Linked DNA regions of Homo sapiens: regions 2 and 3 are each linked to region 1. Evidence: promoter capture Hi-C in 16 types of primary human blood cells and fetal thymus (Javierre and others, 2016). All regions are on one chromosome and are shown on one strand. Each heading gives the region's core, a stretch centred on a gene start or on the middle of the fragment in contact. The rest is flanking DNA. Distances are from core to core; before and after follow the strand shown. Region 1 holds the start of EIF1B (eukaryotic translation initiation factor 1B). Region 2 overlaps ULK4 (unc-51 like kinase 4). Region 3 overlaps SCN11A (sodium voltage-gated channel alpha subunit 11).

What was found. Contacts are between HindIII fragments. The CHiCAGO score rates a contact against its expected background, and 5 or more counts as called.
Region 2: a contact is called between a fragment that was not itself captured here and the fragment with the promoter of EIF1B in region 1, in 14 of 17 cell types (total CD4 T cells, naive CD4 T cells, monocytes and 11 more). The highest score is 21.4, in total CD4 T cells.
Region 3: a contact is called between a fragment that was not itself captured here and the fragment with the promoter of EIF1B in region 1, in 3 of 17 cell types (naive CD8 T cells, non-activated CD4 T cells and total CD8 T cells). The highest score is 8.1, in naive CD8 T cells.

What each region holds. Positions count from the first base shown.
Region 1 is chr3:40,307,325-40,311,639 of GRCh38, reverse strand. EIF1B (eukaryotic translation initiation factor 1B) reads right to left here and starts at 1,933. Exons shown (of 4, transcript NM_005875.3): 1 at 1,668-1,933; 2 at 584-747; 3 at 69-170. The coding sequence starts at 1,698. It overlaps EIF1B-AS1 (EIF1B antisense RNA 1), which reads left to right and starts at 1,942. Exons shown (of 3, transcript NR_033965.1): 1 at 1,942-2,317. It overlaps LOC124906228 (a long non-coding RNA gene), which reads left to right and starts at 2,829. Exons shown (of 2, transcript XR_007095876.1): 1 at 2,829-4,315. RefSeq lists a silencer at 1,523-1,572 and an enhancer at 1,843-2,202. The HindIII fragment of the contact is 2,965 bases long and covers 597-3,561 here.
Region 2 is chr3:41,890,204-41,894,518 of GRCh38, reverse strand. The region is part of intron 16 of ULK4 (unc-51 like kinase 4); the gene reads left to right. Among named protein-coding and RNA genes, the nearest start is that of ULK4, 70 kb to the left of the region's middle. The HindIII fragment of the contact is 4,938 bases long and covers 1-4,315 here.
Region 3 is chr3:39,047,138-39,051,452 of GRCh38, reverse strand. The region is part of intron 1 of SCN11A (sodium voltage-gated channel alpha subunit 11); the gene reads left to right. Among named protein-coding and RNA genes, the nearest start is that of SCN11A, 2.6 kb to the left of the region's middle. RefSeq lists an enhancer at 1-276. The HindIII fragment of the contact is 2,996 bases long and covers 911-3,906 here.

The DNA.
Region 1 (4,315 bases), core at 684-3,183:
TCATGTTGCCTTTAAATACAATTTTAAAAGCAATCTCAAGGTTACACATAAAGCACCCAATCACTCACCTCCAAGAGAAACTGGCAGATGTTTTTTCTTTGGTCACCTTGAAGCTGAATAACCTCTCCGTATTCAGGATGTTCAATCACAGTACCATTACAGGCAAATTTCTGGAAAAGTGCATAAATATACAACAAAATTTAGTCAACTACTATGAGGTTTTATTTCACCGTATGAACAGAATTAGCCATTTCAGTAAGCTAGATCATATTTAGAGAAACAGATTTTGTCTCCTATAATCCACAATCCTTCCAAATTAATTTGTAAACCAGGAAATGATTTTATGTGTAACATCAAGAACTAAATATTTCACATTTAAATTTATTTAAAAGCAACGCGAATCTTCTTTTAAAATGAGAGACCACACTGGGAGAATAACTAAATATTTACATGTTAATTACAAAAATGAGAACAACTTTCTTGGTCTAGTTATTTTCATCCACGCCGATATAAAGGTGTGAATCATAATCCAGTTCAGAGGTGTGCATCAGTAACTCTAATCCTTTCTTCCTAATCCCTTTACCTTTTTGAAAGCTTTCACAAGTTTCTTTTTGTCATAATCATCTGCAATGCCCTGAACAGTAGTCAGTGTCTTTCTGCCGTTCCGTTGCTGGATTCTTATATGAATGTAATCCTCAGTCCCTGCCGGGAGTAAGTCGTCACCCTTAGTTGCATCAGCAAAGGGGTCTGCGAATGGATAAAAAAAAAAAAAAAATCCAAAGTAGAAAAATATTTTTTAAGAAGTACTTTCCAGAAATACATTATACTACCAATCCAGACAGTCATCAATGAAGGTTCTAGTGCCTTTGCTGTTTTTGCCGGTAGGAATGGAGATGGGGGTGGAGTATTAATAAAACCCCCAAGATACTCTCACAAAAAGAGAAACATTTGAACAGCTATGTCCATTGTAGAAAAACGCTGTTATAGATAAATAATGTTATCGTTCAATATGGTCCTCTAATGAGAAAAAGATTTAGAAAACCTTAATATTGTAGCCGCTATAAAAATGTGCGTCATCTCGATTACATTCTGATGAAAACATAAACATTCGAATACGCCCACCTTAATCATTTAACCGTAACTGTGCCTTGCCAAAAAAAAAGTAGATTACATATATATCAAGAGGCGTAATTTAACAAATTGCTACGCAAGCAGAGAAGACTGAACCACTGGCCAGTGACAGATCAGAGGCTTGCATCCGCATCTTTCCCTAAGTGCCCCCAGGAGCTGCCAGAGAACGGGCGCCGATCCCTGGTTTCCCTGGCCCGGCATACCCTTTGCAAGTAGCAGGGCCGATCTAGGAGTCCACGAAATAGGATCGCCAAGGTTTCAAGGGGCAGAAGCGGAGGCGAGAGCCGGGTCAAGGACGGGGCAGGGGGTGGCGCAGGGCCCGCGGCCGGGGCTCCGAGAGGAGGGCTCGGAGTCCGGCGCTGTCCTCGGGGAAGGGGTCGCCAGGGGCCCCGTCGCCATTTTCTGGGCGCCGAGACAAAGCCCCACTAGGGGTGCGGGAAGGGCAGAAAGGGGGCCCCTAGGGGCGGTGGCCAGGCGGGCAAAAGGCCGAGATGCGCGCCGGGCAAGGGAGGGAGGCGGCGGCGACGGGATCTTACCGAAAGATTGGAGGTTCTGGATAGTGGACATGCGATACTAGTGTGAGGCCGGTGAGGGGATAAAATTCCTGCGGGGCCCGCCCGGATCACCTTGTCAGGAGGCTGTAGTGGCGAGAAAACGGAAATAAATAAGAAAACGCTTCGCCCTGGGGTTGGGATTAGGCTGGAGTGGCGGCGGCGGAAGCCGGGAGGAGGCAGGAAGAGGCGAAGGAGGAGGCGGAGGAAGAGGCGAGGGCGCGAGAGAAGAGGCGGCGCTGCGGCTTCTCGCACAAAATGGCCGATGGAGACTATTTAGCCGCGCCCGCGGCCCCTCCCACGTGACCGTCCCGCGCCGAGCATCCTGGGACTTGTAGTTTTCTGGAGGCAGCAGAGCCCGGAAAGCCTGAGGCCGGGGGCGGCCGAGACCGCAATTCCCGTCACGGAGTGCGTCCTCTAGCGCGGGGCGGAAGACCCGCGAAGTGTTCAAGCGGCCGCAGAGCGGCCCAGAGTTCGCAGGTCTGGGGCTCTCTTCCCAGAGAGCTCGTAGGGGAGGACAGTCAAGGGACTCAAGCGTCTCTCTTGACTCCCCTTCTCTCGCTGTGCAGTGGCGGCGCCGAGGGGTCGACGCTCAGGGCTAATCTCTATGAGTCACCCTCGAGGCCCCGGGTAATGTAAGTAAAATCGGGGTGCAGGAACAAAACAAGTCCCCTTGCTCCGGCTTTCAACTCATTGGCCCCCGCTCAGCAACTACCTGCATTGAAATTCCAACCCCAGTTGCAGGAGCGGTGTTAGTCTCAACCAATACTGGAGATGGGAGCCTCTCTTTCCAGGATTGGACGGACCTCCGATTCCCTAGCACGGTGGATCTCAGACTAAAGCGTGTGTCTCTGGAGGGCTTGAGAAAACACTGATAGACCCCAGAGTTTCTGTTTCAGGAAGTCTAGGGTGTGACCTGAAAATCTGCAATTCTCATAAGCTCCTTGGTGATGCTGATCCTGCCTGCTGGTCTGGGATCAGGCTTGAGAATCACTGCCCAGCTTAATCCTGGGCCTGGCATCGAGTGGGGGCCAGGTGTGTATGAACAGAAGATACCAGAAAATCAGCTTGTCAGCTCATTTTGTGTGCCTCAGAAGGCCCAACAGAGAATTCAGGAAAGATGCCAGGTATAAGCTGAAGGTGAGCTCAGCAAATAGGTTAATTGATGGAGTCATGTACCAGACCGTAATATCTTCCTATCAGGTCACGCACAGAAAAATAAACCCGAGACTTTGGGAATTGGCTCACTCAGGCAGGTGTGTTCAATTGTCAAACTTGGTTGGCTTTCTGGAAGCAAAGAGATAGACTAAAATTTAGGGATTCTTAACTTTTTTGTGTGTGCCATGGCAATCCTGTGAAGCTGCTGAATCCCTTCTCAGAATAATGAGAAGTTAAGTTTTAAGTTCACAAAGTACATAGGATTACAAAGGAAACCAATTATATTGAAATTTAAAAAATACATTAATAACGTGTATTTCTTTATTAATACACTAATAAGATCTAGCAAGATTAGGTCTAATACTATAATTTCAAAAAGCTGATAAATGTAAGAGATATTTTGTGATGTCCGTAACATCAGAAATTTAATATGAAAGTATGTGTAACTTCTGTTGGTGCGAAGTGACAGGTCCTTCTATCACTATGATGTTGCCTTTATTCATAATGGAAAGAAATGGTAAATTTTGCTTAGAGGTTAATGAAAATGCAGATATAATCTTTCCCCATCCAATTTTAGGGATCTCCACCCCTGCAGTTTTATCCATGAGCCAAGGATCTGCAGACCGCAGGTTAAGAATACCTGGATTTGACAATCTTTTGTAATTAACAATGATGATAAGTGCCATTTATTTAGTACTTACTGTTTGCCTGTTACAAAGCTTATATATAACATTATTAATCTTCATAGCTATTTTATAAGGTAAGCATTACTCTATGCACCAGGTGTGGAAATGAAGGCTTTTGTAGGTTAATGCCTGAAAAAAAAATCAAATTCTTAACTCTCAGAAATCTAACCACATTTGTGGTCTTCCAGCTCTGGTTCAAATGGAAAACACTCTTCGTATCCCAAATTGAGGTGTAAAGTTTAGAGCTGGCTCCAAAACAAGGAGCATCAAAATATCTAAATAAGTGTGCTTTAAAGTAATTTTATTAGTTCAATTTTGTGCCCTATGTTAATACTCTAACACTCTAATTTCTAAATAATTTGTAATCTAGATAATGCATCTCTATTTGTTTCCTTTCTTTCTTAGTAGATGTACATGAGTATTTTATATTACTTTATTTCTCAGAAGAAGCCAAAGGTGATCCAGTGAAGAAAAAACTACAAACACAGAGAAATTAAAAGAAAAATTCCAGAAATCTTAGGGTTTCATGGTCATTACCCCTGTCAGGAGAACTCACTTTTCTTAGATTTAGTGTTTGCATCAGAAACCTTCAGGAGTGAGAAAAAAAAAAAAAAAGAAAGAAAAAAGAAACCCCCAGGAGCTCAGAAATCTTTAATCAAAGCCAATATGAATACAGATTAGATACAGTTGTGGTTCTTAAGGCTCTTCTAACTCTCATGATTCATAGTCTTTGTGTTTAGACCTGCAGTGTCCAGTACAGAAACCACTAGCCACATGTGGCCATTGAGT
Region 2 (4,315 bases), core at 1,208-3,707, 1.6 Mb before region 1:
GATTGTTAGGACAGGCACATGAAAAAATGGAGGCGAAAGGATTTTGTGGATTGTGGCACTGGTATGATAATAATTATTCTTCTATGTTGGTGAAATATGGGTGAACCAATAGAAGTTTAGAAAATGCTTAATAATAAGGGTAGTTCTTACTATACATCTTCTAATGTTACTCTCCCAAAGTAAAATCTGGTAATAAAAAGTAGGATTTTTAGGTAATGGTTGAGTATTTAATACTTTGAGAAGGCTCATGGTATGCTCATTAAAAATGAATCAATGAAATACTTATTTAAACACCTTTATTTAAAATGTGTTATATCCTTGAATGGGGTGCCCCCTGCTGACATTTTAAAACAGACATTCCAGATCATTTCCAAGTACAGTCATCCTTCTGTATCAGCCCGGAGATTGGTTTTAGTATCCCCTTGGATACCAAAATTCACACATACTGTTTTTTTCCCCCACTTTTAAAAATTGAAGTTTGATTGTAAAACAGTTTTAATTTGAATAAAGTGATACTGAGGTAGACAAGTTCTCTGGTAGGAATCCTCTTTTATTCTTTCTCCATTCAAAGCCACTTCCAGCGACGTTTTCTCTGACCTCAGGTTATATTACCTTGACAGCATATGATAAAGGGTCCTTAACTTAGTCTGGGAGATAATTATTATTGACGTAGATATATTTATTCTTTAGTTTTGTTTTGTATATAAAAAATTAGAATCACATGATATAATTTTATGTTTGTTTTCCCCTGTAACATATATATTACGTATTGTAAATGTTATTATTAACATTTAAAAATAAAATACATAATACTTAAGATAAACTTTTTATATGTTGTGAATATCTGATCATTTTATTTACTATTTTTGGATAGTATTATAATGTTGTAAATAATATTTTGATGAACATTTTTGAGAATAAATCTTTGTGCCTGCTTTTTCTTTTTCTCTTTAGGGAAGATTTGTAGAATTAGAACAGATGGATAGAAGGCAGTAAATATTTTTGTGACTTCTGAAAAATTGCTGAAATACTCTTAAAAAAATTGTATCAATATATAATCCCAGTCAATGTGTTTAAAATGCCTTTTGTTAGAACTTCCAACATTGAGTATTTATCAAATTGTATATCCTTTTATCCTTGCCAGTCAACTTTGAGGTATAATTCACATATAGTAATAGTGTAATACTGTAATTTAAAAAATTTGTTAATTGTAAATTATGCATAATTTAAAATATTCCATTTTAGCCATTTTTATGTATATAATGGCATTTAGTTCATTCTCATTGTTGTATAACCATCACCACTATTCATTTCCAAAACTTTTTCATCATCTTAAACAGAAGCTCTTTACCCATTAAACAGTAACTTCCCCTTTCCTTCCCCAGTCCTGGTAACCTATACTCTACTTATTCTATCTTTGTGAATTTGCTTATGGTGAGTACCTCATATTGCTACTGAAATATCAAGGGGTTTGGTTTAAGTCCTGTTGCTCACAGCACAGAAAGCCAATCACGGAGACAATGAGTGTTGCTAGGGAAGAAGGCTTCAATTGGGTGCTGCAGCTAAGGAGATGGGAGATCAGTCTCAAATTTGTCTCCTCAACTGACTAAAACCAGGGATGTATTTAGCAGGGAAGAAATATAACCATGTATGGGAAAACAGGAATCAAGGAAGGGTGAGGAAGAGGAATTGGTCAACAGGAAGCAGGTAGTTGGTTAGGCAATTGTAATGGGTGAGGGGGTCTGGTGTCTTATGGTCCAGATATGGTGATTTGGTAAGTTTCAGTTCCTTGATAACTATCTGGGAGGCCTGATGGTTGGTTTCCCAAGAAAGGAACTCAGATAAGACAAATGTAACTTCCTCAAGTTTTAAGACTGGGAGGGTCAATTTCTACGTTTATTTTAAAAGACTGTAAACATCAGTTCTATAGGACAATTGGGCTGGTTTCATTTGCAAGGTTCATCCATGTTATAACTAACATGTGTCAGCATTTCATTCCTTTTTAAGGCTGAATAATATTCCGTTGTATGCATATACTACATTTTGTTTATCTTTTCATCTGTTGTTGGGCACTGGCTTGTTTATATCTTTTGGCTATTGTGAACAATGCTGCTGTGAACATTAGTGTTTTCTGTTTTTGTTTTTTGCTAACAGCTATCCTGATGGGTGTGAAGTAGTATCTTACAGTTTTGATTTGTATTTTGTGACTAGTGATGTTGAACATCTTTTCGTGTGATTGTTGGCTATTTGTATATCTTCTTTGGAGAAAGATCTAGTCAAGTCATTTGCCAATTTTTGAACTGAGTTTTATGTTGTTGAGTTGTAGGTATTTTTTATATATTCTAGATATTAACCCCTTGTCAGATAAATGATTGCAAATATCTTCTCTCATTACATAGGTTGCTTTTTACTGTGGCAAGTGCCTTTTTGAGATATGAATTTAGGAGGAATTTTTCTATTTTTCAAATAAGAGTTTTATACTTGAATAAGGTAAAGTAAATGCTCATCCATCATAAATTTTTTAATTAAAAACATAGTTTTCCTGTTTCTTTGCTGTAGTTCTTCTCTTGGTTGATTAGATTTTATCATTTGGTAGGTTTTTTTTTGTTTGTTTGAGACGGAGTCTCGCTCAGTCACTCAGGCTGGAGTGCAGTGGCACAATCTCAGCTCACTGCAACCTCTGCCTCCCGGGTTCAAGTGATTCTTCTGCTTCAGCCTCCCGAGTAGCTGGGATTATAGGCACCTGCCATCATGCCCGGCTAATTTTTGTATTTTTGTAGAGATGAGGTTTTACCGTGTTGGCCAGATGGTCTCCAACTCCTGATCTCAGGTGATCCACCTGCTCTGGCCTCCCAAAGTGCTGGGATTATAGGCATGAGCCACCGCGCCTGGCTGTTAGTATTTTTTGTTTGTTTTCAAGAAGGCCTCTCAGTGGCTTACCTCTGTGCCATGCTTTGGAGTTTGAGCTCTCTTCCTTGTACTAACTGTAGTTCTGTAGGACTTGTGGGTAAACCTTACCTTTTTTTTTTTTTTCCCTCTTCTGTGTGACTTGTTTGAGTTAGCTTTTCTTTTCATTTCAGGCCTGTAAATTTTACTAGATTGTCTCTAGGAATCTCTTTTTACTAATTTGCTCCTTCCTGCCTGCCTGCCTGCCTCCCTCCCTCCCTCCCTCCCTCCAGTCCCGTCTTGTCCCGTCCCTTCCTTCCCCGCTCCCGTCCCTTCCTTCCCCGCTCCCGTCCCTTCCTTCCCCGCTCCCGTCCCTTCCTTCCCCGCTCCCGTCCCTTCCTTCCCCCTCCCGTCCCTTCTTTCCCCGCTCCCATCCCTTCTTTCCCCCTCCTGTCCCTTCCTTCCCCCTCCCGTCCCTTCCTTCCCCGCTCCCGTCCCTTCCTTCCCCGCTCCCGTCCCTTCCTTCCCCCCTCCCGTCCCTTCTTTCCCCCTCCCGTCCCTTCCTTCCCCCCTCCCGTCCCTTCTTTCCCCCTCCCGTCCCTTCTTTCCCCCTCCCGTCCCTTCTTTCCCCCTCCCGTCCCTTCTTTCCCCCTCCCGTCCCTTCTTTCCCCCTCCCGTCCCTTCTTTCCCCGCTCCCGTCCCTTCTTTCCCCCTCCCGTCCCTTCTTTCCCCCTCCCGTCCCTTCCTTCCCCCTTCTGTCCCTTTCTTCCCCGCATCCCTTCCTTCCCCCCTTCCGTCCCTTCCTTCCCCCCTCCCATCCCTTCCTTCCCCCATCCCGTCCCTCCTGTCCCTCCTGTCCCTCCCGTCCCTCCCGTCCCTCCCGTCCCTCCTGTCCCTTCCTTCCCTCCCGTCCCTCCTGTCCCTTCCTTCCCTTCTTTTCTTTCTGTTTATTTTGAGACAGAGTCTTGCTCTGTCGCCCAGGCTGGAGTGCAGTGGCGCGATCTTGGCTCACTGCAACCTCCACCTCCCGGGTTCAAGGATTCTCCTGCCTCAGCCTCCCGAGTAGCTGGGATTACAGGTGTGCACCACCATGCCCAGCTAATTTTTGTATTTTTAGTAGAGATGGGTTTTCACCATGTTGGCCAGGCTGGTCTCAAACTCCTGACCTCAAGTGATCCACCTGCCTTGGCCTCCCAAAGTGCCGGGATTACAGGTGTGAGCCACGATGCCTAGCCTCTTCATCCCTCCTTTAGCTTTTATATTATTTCTTAGATTTCTTCCTATTTCATCCTTTTTCTGTTCCTGAAACCCCTACAGGATGGGTGTGGGAGTTTGTCTCTCTTGACTTTTCTTTTAAATTTTCTTTTGCTTTCTCACTTTCTCTTGTTTATTGAGGTATAATTCACATACCATAAAATTCACCATTTTA
Region 3 (4,315 bases), core at 1,159-3,658, 1.3 Mb after region 1:
ATGTCCTTTGTAGGGACATGATGGAGCTGGAGGCCCTTATCCTTAAGCAAACTAACAAAGGAACAGAAAACCAAATACCGCACGTTCTCACTTATAAGTGGGAGCTAAATGATGAGAACACATGGACACAAAAGAGGGGGACAACACACACTGGGGCCTTTCGGAGGGTGGAGGGTGGGAGGAGGGCGAGGATCAGGAAAAATAACTAATGGGTACTAGGCTTAATACCTGGGTGACAAAATAGCCTGTACAACAAACACCCGTGACACAAGTTTACCTATATAACAAACCTGCACTTGTACCCCTGAACTTAAAAGTTTAAAAAAAAAAAACAAGACAAAAAGATGTTATAGGAAGGCGAAAACGGTACACCAGCTAAAATTGTTCCCAGAGACAATTCTAGTTTAAATCATCTCTTATACTGGAACAGTTAGGTTTGACTTAAGGTGGTTTTCCTGACCACTAATTATAAGAGCTGAGGGTGATCAGACCCTCTCTAGTGAAAGTGAATCCTATAGAACTACACTGTGGGATATAGCATATGATGTATCTGCTAGTCATTTGTGGCTCTTGAGCACTTGAAATATAGCTAGTTCCAGTTGAGATATGTAATTGTAAACTACCCCCAAATTTCAAAGACTAGTTTGAAGAAAAGAATGTAAAATATCTCATTAATAATTTTTTGTATTGATTTCATGTTGAAATGATGTTTGGGGGTATATTAGGCTAAATAAAATTTATTAATTTTGTCATGGATATTAGAATATTTAAAATTACATATGTGGTCACAAATTTCTGTTGCATAGTGCTAGTATATAAGTAATGCTTAGAAAAGTTGTCTTGACAAATACTTCTTAAATTAATAAAGAAATGTGAATTAGATGAGTAAAAATTGTGATGGCAGAAAGCTTCTTAAGCAAAACTGGCAGTGATAACTTATAGGTAAATTACTGCATCATTACAGGCTTATTCATTCACTGATTCATGTATTCATTCATTTAACAAAATATTATTTAGCATATCATATATGCCAGGCACTATATTAGGTGTTGGGGAATCAGTGGTGAGTGCACATAGTCATAGAACTTAGAGTCCCAGGATGAGACAGGAATTAATACAGAGATAAGTACTATGAAGAAAGATGATTGTAAGACAGGAAGTATCTTGAGTCAAGAGTTAACTAGGCAAGGAGAGGGAACAGTCTGAGCAAAGGTCTTGTAGCAGGAGAGAGCATGGAACATTACAGGAACTGAGAGTCAAGGCTTAGAGTACAGAGAAGTGAAAGGAGTATGCAGAGGCCATACCCAGCAGGATCTTTTAGACCAATGGGAAGCTGTTGAAATACAGGTAGGGAAATAATATGTCTGTATTTTAAAAATTGCTTAAGTGTCTATTGAGCACCTATGATGTGCAAAATACAATACAGGTATGTTGCTCTGGACAATATACTGGTACTTGCTAGAAATTGATATGTTGTAGTCCTGCTTTGGACCTGAAAAATATTGAAATAGTGAAGTTCTTTCAGTGGGCAGAATTTTCACCAGTATGTTTTGATGTTCAGTTTGGCTGAAAGGAGAAATGGTCAATTCAGGGTCAGAGGATAATTTTTTGGCCAGTTTGTGAAGGACATGGAAAGAGCAAGACTGGAGAACTAGTGACAAGGAAGACTCCAGAAGGGATATAGTGATGGACCTCTCAGAATAAATCTTAAGAATCATATGGATGAAATGAACTGCTTTGTGATGAAACTCAGCCTCACTGCCTGCTCAGTAGAATCATGAAATAAATGGCAATGGCAATGGCAACAGGATTGGAGCTATGCATGGGATCACCAAGCCACCGCTGGGTGTTCAGAAGCAGTGACCAATACCCCATGCTCTGGGAGGGTCAGCCAGTCACATGTAGGCAAGTCTATTCCATTGGTCATTGGCCCTCCCCATCATTGAGGGAGTTCTTATTTGTCCTCTCTAAAATATGTTTATTCTAGATTGAGATTTGCTTTCCCTGCTCACTGTACTTCCGCTGACACCACCATCTAGGGAATTACTCAGTGCTTTAGACACTATCATTTTCTCTAACACTATATTGCTTTTGACCAAGAAATTCACTCTGCAATGAAAGAAGTAATGCAATGGGCTATTGCCCATGGAATTTATTGGTCTAATTGTGTACTCAATCACTGAGAAGTATCTTGTCTTATTGAAGATATATTGAAGACTTAGCTATGGTGCCTTCTGGGAGATAACCCTTTTTGATACTGTCCTGTAGGATGCAGTATATGCTCTGAACTACTGTCCAATATTCAGCACTCTTTTTTCCTGTTCCTTTTATCTATTGCTGTTTAACCATCTGCAAAATGCAATGGTTTAAAACAATTACAACCCTTACTTTACTTACAAATCTGTAATTTATGCAGAGCTTCATGGGAACAGATTGTCTCTGTTCCACTATCCACTTCACATCAGCTGGGGCAGCTAAAAGATTGGGGCTGGAATCATCTGAAGACCCCTTCTCTCACATGTCTGGTGACTGATACTGGTGTTGGCCTAGTCCTTAGCCAAAGCTGTGGCTAGAACACCTTCTCATGATCTTTCCACAGCACTATTTGGTTCCTCACAATATGCTAACTGGGTTCCAAGGATGAGCATCCCGAAGAAGAAAAATCTGGTTGAAAGCTATAATGCTTTTTCTAAACTCACAGTGGAAGTCATGCAGTGTCACTTTAAGCCATAGTCAATTCATTAGAACTTAGTTACTAAGGCCATCAGTGTCTAAGGAGAGGGGATTAGATGACTCCTTTTTTTATGAAGTATCAATAAATTTGTGGATGTATTTTTTAATTGACACATAATAATTGTACATATATATGGGGTACAGTGTGATATTTTGATACCTGTATACAATCTGTAATAATTGCTTTGGGAAAATTCAATATCCACTCTTTTAGCTATTTGAAAATATGGAATAAATTATTGTTAATCATAGTCATCCTACAGTGATATAGAACACCAAAAATTATTCCTTCTACCTAGCTGTAATTTTATATGTGTTAACCAACCTCTCTATATATAATCCTCTCCTTTACCCTTCTCAGCCACTAGTTACCACTATTCTGTTCTCTACTTCTCTGAGATCAACTTATTTCTCTTTCACATATTGGTGAGAACATGCAGTATTTATCTTTCTGTGCCTGGCTTATTTCACTTAAGATAATGACCTCCGGTGCTATCCATGTTGCTGCAAATGACATAATTTTATTCTTTTTTATGATTGAATAGTATTTCATTGCATATATGTACCACATTTTCTTTATCCATTCTTCTTTTGATGGACACTTAGGTTAACTCCGTATCTTGGCCACTGTGAATAGTGCTGCAGTAACTGTGGGAGGACAGGTATCTCTTTGACATACTGATTTCCTGTTCTTTGGGTAGTAGTGGGATTGCTGGATCATATGGTAGTTGTAGTTTTAGTTCTTTGAGAAATCTACACACTGTTTTCCATAATGGTTGAACTAATTTACATTCCTATCAACAGTGTATGAATTCCCTTTTCTCTGCATCCTCACCCTCTGCATTTGTTTTTGTCTTTTTCGTATAGCGATTCTAACTGGAGTGAGATAATATCTCACTGTGGTTTTGATTTGTATTTCCCTGATGATTAGTGATGTTGAGCATTTTTTTCATGTATTTGTTGGCTATTTATATGTCTTCTTTTGAAAAATGTGTATTCAGATCATTTGCCCATTTAAAAATTATTTGGGTTTTTTTTGCTATTGAGTTGTTTGAGTTTTTTATACTTCCTGGATATTAATTCCTTGTTGGATGAATACTTTGCAAATATTTTCTCTCATTCTGTAGGCTGTCTCATTCCTCTATTGATTGTTTCCTTTTCTGTGCAGAAGCTTTTTAGTTTGATGTAATCCAATTTGTCTATATTTGGTTTTGTTGCCTGTGCTTTTGAGGGCTTATCCATAAAATCTTTGCCCAGGCCAATGTCCTGAAGCATTTCTCCTGTATTATCTTTTAGTAGTTTCATAGTTTTGGGTTTTATATTTAGGTTTTTAATCCATTTCGTGTTGATTTTTGTATAGGGTGAGACGTAGGGAGTCTAGTTTCTTTCCTTTTCATATAGGGGGTCAGTTTTCCCAGCACCATTTATTGAACAGGCTGTTCTTTTCCCAATATGTTATAGGGCCTTTGTTAAAAATCAGTTAATTGCCAGGCATGGTGGTACATGCCTGTAGTCCCAGCTACTTGGAAGGCTGATATATGAGGATTGCTTAAGCCCAGGAGTTTGAGGCCTGCAGTATACT